Regions from separate parts of the Homo sapiens genome. Here region 2 is linked to region 1. The links are contacts of gene promoters, found by promoter capture Hi-C in human tissues and cell types (Jung and others, 2019). All regions are on one chromosome and are shown on one strand. The core of a region is centred on a gene start or on the middle of the fragment in contact, and the rest is flanking DNA. Distances in the headings are between cores, read along the strand shown.

What was found. The method cuts DNA at HindIII sites, captures the fragments that hold promoters and counts their contacts. A contact is called where the count stands out against the background at its distance.
Region 2: a contact is called between a fragment that was not itself captured here and the fragment with the promoter of DPRX in region 1, in 2 of the 25 tissues and cell types used here (liver and thymus).

What each region holds. Positions count from the first base shown.
Region 1 is chr19:53,629,654-53,633,885 of GRCh38, reverse strand. DPRX (divergent-paired related homeobox) reads right to left here and starts at 1,887. Exons shown (of 3, transcript NM_001012728.2): 1 at 1,752-1,887. The coding sequence starts at 1,779. It also overlaps the pseudogene RN7SL317P. The HindIII fragment of the contact is 20,441 bases long and covers 1-4,232 here.
Region 2 is chr19:53,352,525-53,356,756 of GRCh38, reverse strand. It overlaps ZNF845 (zinc finger protein 845), which reads right to left. Exons shown (of 4, transcript NM_138374.3): 4 at 1-4,232. The coding sequence ends at 3,169. It also overlaps the pseudogene LOC107987264. Among named protein-coding and RNA genes, the nearest start is that of ZNF525, 11 kb to the left of the region's middle. The HindIII fragment of the contact is 6,579 bases long and covers 1-4,232 here.

The DNA of each region.
Region 1 (4,232 bases), core at 638-3,137:
GATCATATCAGGTCATGAGTTTGAGACCAGCCTGGCCAGCATGGTGAAACCCCATCTCTATTAAAAACACAAAAATTTGGCCGGGCACAGTGGCTCATGCCTGTAATCCCAGCACTTTGGGAGGCCAAGGCGGGCGGATCATGAGGTCAAGAGATCAAGACCATTCTGGCTAACATGGTGAAACCCTGTCTCTACTAAAAGTACAAAAATTAGCTGGGCGTGATGGTGCACGCCTGTAGTCCCAGCTACTCGGGAGGCTGAGGCAGGAGAATCGCTTGAACCTCAGAGGCAGAGGCTGTGGTGAGCCGAGATTATGCCACTGCACTCCAGCCTGAGACAGAGGGAGACCCTGTCTCAAGAAAATAATAAATAAATAAATAAATAAATACGTAAATAAGGGATCGCTTGTGCCTTACCTCTTGGGTTCTATTTTCTTTGTGTAGAAATAGGCAACTCAATCCAAGGTGAAATGGATGGACATGGTTTTATTCTTATCATTTATTCAATGTTCATTAAGTATATTCTTTTAGGAATATAGCAAGGAAATAAGCAGAAAAATAACATCACTGCTGTCACGGATGTCACCTTTTACTTTCTTTTTCTTGAGACAGTGTACTGCTGTGTTGCCCAGTGGCATGATCACAGCTCACTTCAGCCTCAACCTCCCCAGGCTCAAGCGATCCTCTCACCTCAGCCTCCCGAGTAGCTGGAACTACACAACACTGACATGCCCGGCTAATTTTTGTATTTTTTGTAGAGACAACGTCTTGTTTTGTTGCCCAGGCTGGTCTTGAACTCCTGGGCTGAAGCGATCTGCCCACCTCGGCCTCCCAAAGTGCTGGGATTACAGGCATGAGCCACCGCATGCCTCGCTCTAAAAGATCTGAATCGCATCATGCCTGAAAATGGTTTGGCAGCAGCTCCAGAGTCTAGTAAGTGCTCATGAACATGAGATTTCCAGCTTGGCTAAGCCTATATTCTATCTAGGACCTAATCATCCTCATAGGAATCAGATTCCCCTGTGCTCAAGAACAAGCATCGGGGTGGGAAGAATTAGGACACAACTACGAGGGAGAAGATTTCGGATTTGAAGGCAGAAACAGGCTTCCCTGCATTTGCCTGTGCTGTCAGATGACAGCCGCGGCCGGGCACCGAGGCTCATGCCTGTAATCCCAGCACTTTGGGAGGCCGAGGCCAGCCAATCACATGAGGTCAGGGGCTTGAGACCAACCTAGCTAACATGGTGAAACCCCATCTCTATAAAGATACAAAACTTGGGCCGGGTGCAGTGGCTCACGCCTGTCACCCCAGCACTTTGGGAGGCTGAGCCAGACGGATCACAAGGTCAGGAGTTCGAGACCAGCCTGGTCAATATGGTGAAACCCCCGGCTCTACTAAAAATACAAAAAAAAAAAAAATTAGCCAGGTGTGGTGGCGTGTGCCTGTCATCCCAGCTACTCGGGAGGCTGAGGCAGGAGAATTGCTTGAACCTGGGAGGTGGAGGTTGCAGTGAGCCGAAATCGTGCCACTGCACTCCAGCCTGAGCGACAGAGTGAGACTGTCTCAAAAGACAAACAAAACAAAACAAAACAACAACAACAAAAACGATGACAGCCTCTGTGGGAAGTCCCTGCCACCCACGTGGACGAAGCACCAGCTTCGGCCGCCTGGTCCCTCTGCCTTTTCCCGCCGCCAGCTGCTTTCCACTTCTTCACGTGTCTTTGCTTCGGTTCTCATTTTTTCTGGCTTACCTTTACGAAGATCCTCTGAGCCTGGCATCTTCTAATCCAGATGTGCGCCTGGGTTCAGGTCCAGGGATAAGAACTAGCAAAGATCAAATCCGGATTTAAGTAGCTTCCTCCACAGCCACACCCGACTCCCACCTCCTCCACCTTTCTCTGCCCTATCTGCCTCCAATATGATCCCTCGGTCCTCCAGAGCCCCCTGGATTTCTCCCAATACTGTCATTTTATCTAATATTGATTGAGCGGAGACCAACGACTCAAAGGCGAGTCCACAAACCAGCCCCACTAACACTCCTGGGAGTTGTTAAAATGCAGAATCCTGGCCCACTCCAGACTTCCTGAGCAGAAGCTGCAATTTCTTTTCTTTTTTTCTTTTTCTTTGAGACAGAGTCCCACTCTGTCACCCAGGCTGGAGCGCAATGACACCATCTTGGCTCACTGCAGCCTCTGCCTCCCAGGTTCAAGGGATTCTCATGTCTCAGCCTCCCGAGTAGCTGAGATCACAGGCCTGTGCCACCACTCCTGACTAATTTTTGTATTTTTAGTAGAGACGGAGTTTCCGCCATGTTGGCCAGGCTGGTCTTGAACTCCTGCCCTCAACGTTTCTGACTCGGTCTGGGGTGGGATCTGATGATTTCCATATCTAACAAGCACCCAGGTGACCAGGCTCCGTAATGGGGACCGGGAATGTGATTGTGAATAATGAAGTCCAGGTTTAAACCCTAAAGGGGCTTTCAGGCAACTTATATATTCTTTAGTGGCTAATATATGCTTGGCATTGTTCTGCATATCCTGATTTAGTTAACTCACTCAGAAATCATCTCATTTTATTTATTTATTTATTTATTTAGAGATGGAGTCTCACTCTGTCACCCAGGCTGGAGTGCAGTGGCACGATCTCGGCTCACAGCAACCTCCGCCTCTCAGGTTCAAGCAATTCTCCTGCCTCAGCCTTCCCAGTAGCTGGGATTACAGGCACCCACCACCAAGCCTGGCTAATTACAGGTGGCTCACACCTGTAATCCCAGCACTTTGGGAGGCTGAGGCAGGCGGATCACCTGAGGTCAGGAGTTCGAGACCAGCCTGGCCAACATGGCGAAACCCCATCTCTACTAAAAATACGAAAATTAGCTGGGTGTGGTGGTGGGCACCTGTAATCCCAGCTACTCAGGAGGCTGAGGCAGGAGAATTGCTTGAACCCAGGAGGCAGAGGTTGCAGTGAGCTGAGATCGCACCACTGCACTCCAGCCTGGGTGACAGGAGTGAGACTCCATCTCAAAAAAATAAAAGAAAAAGCTGCAACACCTTTCAGATGCCCAGGCTCACACCATGTATACCTTTTATCTTGACGACAAGGGCAGTTTGACTTCAGGTTCACAGAAGTGGCAGTTTTTCTTGCCATTCCATCCATTTGAATCTCAGTTCTGCACATCTCTACTTGTGACAGTGGTTAGCCTTTGCATAAATGAGCTTGTAGCTACTTTTTTTTTTCTTTTTGAGACAGGGTCTTGCTATGTCTCAAAAAACACAGCTGACTGCAGCCTCGACCTACTGGGCTCAAGTGATCCTCCTACATTTGCCCCCAAGTAGCTGTGACTACAAAGGCCTAGGCCCAGCCTGGAGTGCAGTGGCAAAATCATAGCTCAATGCAGCCTTAACCTCCTGGGCCTAGGTGAGCCTCTCACCTAAGCCTCCTGAGTAACTGGGACTACAGGTGCACACTACCATACCCAGCTAATTTTTGCATTTTTTGTAGAGAAGGGATTTTGGCTAGGCTAGTCTCAAAGTCTTAGGCACAAGCCATCCTCCCACCTCAGCCTCCCAAAGTGCTGGGATTAGTAAGAGGCAGTCTGTGTTGCTCAGGCTGGAGGGCAATTCACAAGCTGATTCCACTACTGATCAGCATGAAAGTTTTTTTTTTTTTTTTTGAGATGGAGTCTCACTCTGTCGCCCAGGTTAGAGTGCAGTGGCGTGATCCCGGCTCACTGCAACCTCTGCCTCCTGGGTTCAAGCAACTCTCCTGCCTCAGCCTCCCAAATAGCTGGGATTATAGGCACATGCCACCATGCCCAGCTAATTTTTTTTTTTGTATTTTTAGTAGAGACAGGGTTTCACCATGTTGGCCAGACTGGTCTCAAACTCCTGACCTCAGGTGATCCATCTGCCTTGGCCTCCCAAAGTGCTGGGATTACATGTGTGAGCCACTGTGCCCAGCCAGCATGAAAATTTTGACCTGCTCCATTTTCAACCTAGACCATTTCCCCACTTCTTAGGCAACCTGGTGGGAGGTCACCATATTGATGCCGAACTTAGTGTGGATGCCCAATTGGCAGAGCACATTACAGCCTAGAACTCCTGGGTTCAAGCCATCCTCCCGCCTCAGCCTCCCAAAGTGCTGGGATTACAGGTGTGAGCCACTGCACCCGGCCTGATGAACAGTATATCTTTAGAGGTGAATAAGACATACCAAGCAACAATTTTAAACCA
Region 2 (4,232 bases), core at 786-3,285, 280 kb after region 1:
GGGGTTTCACCGTGTTAGCCAGGATGGTCTCGATCTCCTGACCTCGTGATCCGCCCACCTTAGCCTCCCAAAGTGCTGGGATTACAGGCGTGAGCCACCACGCCCGGCCTCATTTACAAATTTTCTAAATAAACGTCCTGAGAAAAGAGACAAAAGGAAGGGAAATCTTTTCCTTTATTCTCAAAGGAGGAATTATGCCTCTCATTTATTTGCTTGTTTGAGACAGGGTCTAGCTCTGTCACCCAGGCTGGAGTGCAGTGGTGAGATCAGGGCTCACTTCAGCCTCAAAATCCCTGCTTCAACTGATCCTCCCACTTCAGTGCCCAGAGTAGCTGGGACCACAGCAGTGCACCACCACACCTGGCTGACTTTTTTTACTTTTAGCAGAGAAGAGGTCCCCTATGTCGCCCAGGCTGGTCTTGAATCCCTAGGCTCACGTCACCCACCTGCCTGGGCCTCTAAAACCGCTGGGATTACAGGCCTGAGCCACTGCGTCTGGTCTCATCGTAAATTTGATGTTTCTTCTTGTTTTAACAGAATTTGTATTGCTGTGATAGAGGTTCTTTTCAAACTGATGTCTTATCCTTCTGAGTGCCTCAAACTAGAGCCTGTTCAGACGTTATAACAAGTTTATACTGGTTTATTTTGGTACAAAAAGTGTGAAATTTATGCACAAATTTTTCATAATATGTATTTTTCCATGAACTTCTTGAAGACCCTTATACTAGCAAACTGTATTCAAGAGGATATAAAAAGGGATTGTAAACATCCAAGTGCTACCTATTCATGGGATGCAAGGATGGTTCAACATACTCAAATCAATGGGATACACACTTGCACAGAATGACAGATAAAAAACACATTATCTCAATAGATAGAGAAAAAGCATTTCACAGAACTCAATATTCATTCTTCGTAAAAATCCTAAACAATATAGGTAGAGTTTTACCTCAAAAATATAAAAATCATCCATGAAATGACCACAGCTGAAATAACCAATGAAGGAAAATGGAATGGTTTTCCTGTAGGATATCACATGATGCAAGAATGCTCTCACCCCTGATATTCAATAAATACTGGCTGTCCTAGGCAGAGCAATTAAATAGCAAAAGAAATAAAACTCATCCAAATCAGAAAGACAGAAGTAAAATTACATTTGTTGGGGCCGGGCTCATGGCTCACACCCATAATCCCAGCAATTTGCAAGTCCGAAGTGGGCGGATAATGAGGTTAGGCGATCTAACATATTCTTTCAAGTTCTCTTCAAGGTACTCACCATGTTGGCCCACCATCTGGGCCAACATGGTGAAACCCCGTCTTTACTAAAATAAAAAAAATAAATAAATTAGCTAGGTGTGGTGACATGCGCCTGTAGTCCCAGCTACTCAGGAGGCTGAGACAGAATTGCTTGGACGTGGGAGACAGAGGTTGCAGTGAGCAAAGATCATTCCACGGCACTCTAGCCTGGCGACAGAGAGAGACATTGTCTCAAAAAAAAAAATTATTTCCTTGTAGATGATACGACATTCTATATAGAAAATCACTGGCTGGGTGCGGTGGCTCACACCTGTAATCCCAGAACTTTGGGATGCTGATGGGGGCGGATCACCTGAAGTCAGGAGTTCAAGAAAAACCTGGTCAACATGGTGAAACCCCGTCTCTACTAAAAATACAAAAAAATTATACGGACATGGTGGCAGGCACCTGTAATCTCAGTTAGTAGGCAGGAGAATCACTTAAACCCGAAAGGCAGAGGCTGCAGTGAGCCAAGATCGTGCCATTGTACTCCAGTCCAAGTGACAAGAGTGAGACTCCTTCTCAAAAAAAAAGAAAAGAGCCTGGGTAACAGAGTGAGACTGTCTCAAAAAAAAAAGAAAGAAAATCACAAAGAATCAACCAAGATTTTACTGATACTAATAAACCCACTCAATGTATTTGCAGAATACAAAATCAGCACCCAAAATTAGTTGAATTTCCTTACATTAACAATAAATAATGTTTAAAGAAACTTATGAACACACTTCAATTTGCTATGAAACTTAATACTTACAAATAAACTGAATTAAGGAGGTGAGAAGCTTGTACCTTGAAATCTACATTGATCAAAAAAACTAAATAGACATACAACCCATATTGATGGATTGGAAGTCTTAATATTGTTGAATGATTATACAAACAAATGTGATTTAGATTCAACAGATACCCATAAAAACCCGTAACAGTTTTTATTAAAGAAACAAAATACAGGGTGGGAAAAGTGACTCATGTCTGTTGGCCAGTCTGGTCTCAAACTCCTGACCTCAAGTGATCTATTGGTCTTGGCCTCCCAAAGTGCTGGGATTACAGGCGTGAGCCACCCCGCCTGGCCCAATCTTCTTAACATAAACACTTTAATGTCAATTAATGCTTGAACTCAATGTTAAGTCAATTCAAACTCAAGTCAATGCTGAATTGACTCTAATGCCAATTAATGCTTGATGGTTTGCTATACTCATTGCATTTGGAACAATCATCTCAAAAATGAATTTTCTGATGTTCCTTAAGGGGTGATCTCAGACTGAAGACCTTGCCACACTGATGACATTTGTAAGATTTCTGTCCAGTATGGATTCTCTGATGTCTAATTAGGTGTGAACGTGAAGTAAAGGCTTTGCTGCAATCATCATACTTGTGAAGTTTGTCTCCTGTATGAAGTCTCCTGTTTTGCATAAGATGAAGCTAGACTGAAGACCTTGCCACAATCATGACATTTGTAAGGTTTCTCTCCAGCATGAGTTCACCGATGAACTGCAAGGTATGAACAATGTCTGAAAAATTTGCCACATTTATTACACTTTCAAAATCTCTCATTATGGATTCTCCAATGATTTGAAACGGTTGTAGTGTTACTGAAGACTTTGTGATAATCATTACATTAGTAAAGTTTCCCTATACCATGGATTGCCTGATGGTGAATAAGTGTTGACTGCCCACTAAAGGCTTTGCCACACTCAGTACACTTGTAAGGTTTCTCTCCAGTGTGACTTCTAGTTTGTTGGGCCAGGTGTGAATCACGCCCAAGATTCTTGTCACAAACTCTTACATTTGTAAGCTTTCTCTCCAGTATGAATTCTCCTGTCTTTCAAGACTTGATTTACAACTGTAAACTTTGTCACATTCTTCATATTTCTAATGTTTCTTTCCAGTATGAATTCTATGATGACGTGCAAGTTTTGCTTTTCGATTAAAAACCTTGCCACATTCATTACACTTGTAAGGTTTCTCTCCAGTATGAATTGTCTTATGAATTACAAGGACTGAATTGTGACGGAAGGTTTTGCCACACTCATTACACTTGTAAGGTTTCTCTCCAGTATGAATTCTATGATGACATGCAAGGTGTGCTTGTTGATTAAAAACCTTACCACATTTATTACACTTGTAAGGTTTCTCTCCAGTATGAAGTCTATGATGACGTGAAAGGTTTGCTTTTCTATTAAAAACCTTGCCACATTCACTACACTTGTAAGGTTTTTCTCCAGTATGAATTGCCTTATGAATTTCAAGGGCTGAATTGTGACGGAAGGTCTTGCCACACTCATTACACTTGTAAGGTTTCTCTCCACTATGAATTGCCTTATGAATTACAAGGGCTGAATTGTGACGGAAGTTCTTGCCACATTCATTACACTTGTAAGGTTTCTCTCCAGTGTGAATTCTAGTATGTTGTGCCAGGTGTGAATCACGCCCAAAAGCTTTGTCACAAACCTTACATTTGTATGGTTTCTCTCCAGTATGAATTCTCCTGTGTTTTTCAAGGCTTGATTTGCGACTGAAAACTTTGTCACATTCTTCACATTTGTAAGGTTTCTCTCCAGTATGAAGTCTAAGATGGCATGTAAGGGATGACTTCTGACTGAAGGCCTTGCCACACTCATTACACTTGTAAGGTTTCTCTCCAGTATGAATTGCCTTGTGAATTATAAGGGCTGAATTTCGACCGAAGGTCTTGCCACACTCATTACACTTGTAAGGTTTCTCTCCAGTATGAAGTCTACGATGGCATGTAAGGTATGACTTCCGACTAAAGGTCTTGCCACATTCATTACACCTGTAAGGTTTCTCTCCAGTATGAATTCTCCTATGTCTTTGAAGGTTTGATTTGAAACTGAAAGCTTCATCACATTCTTCACATTTGTAAGGTTTCTCTCCACTATGAGTTCGCCAATGAACTGCAAGGTATGAACGATGTC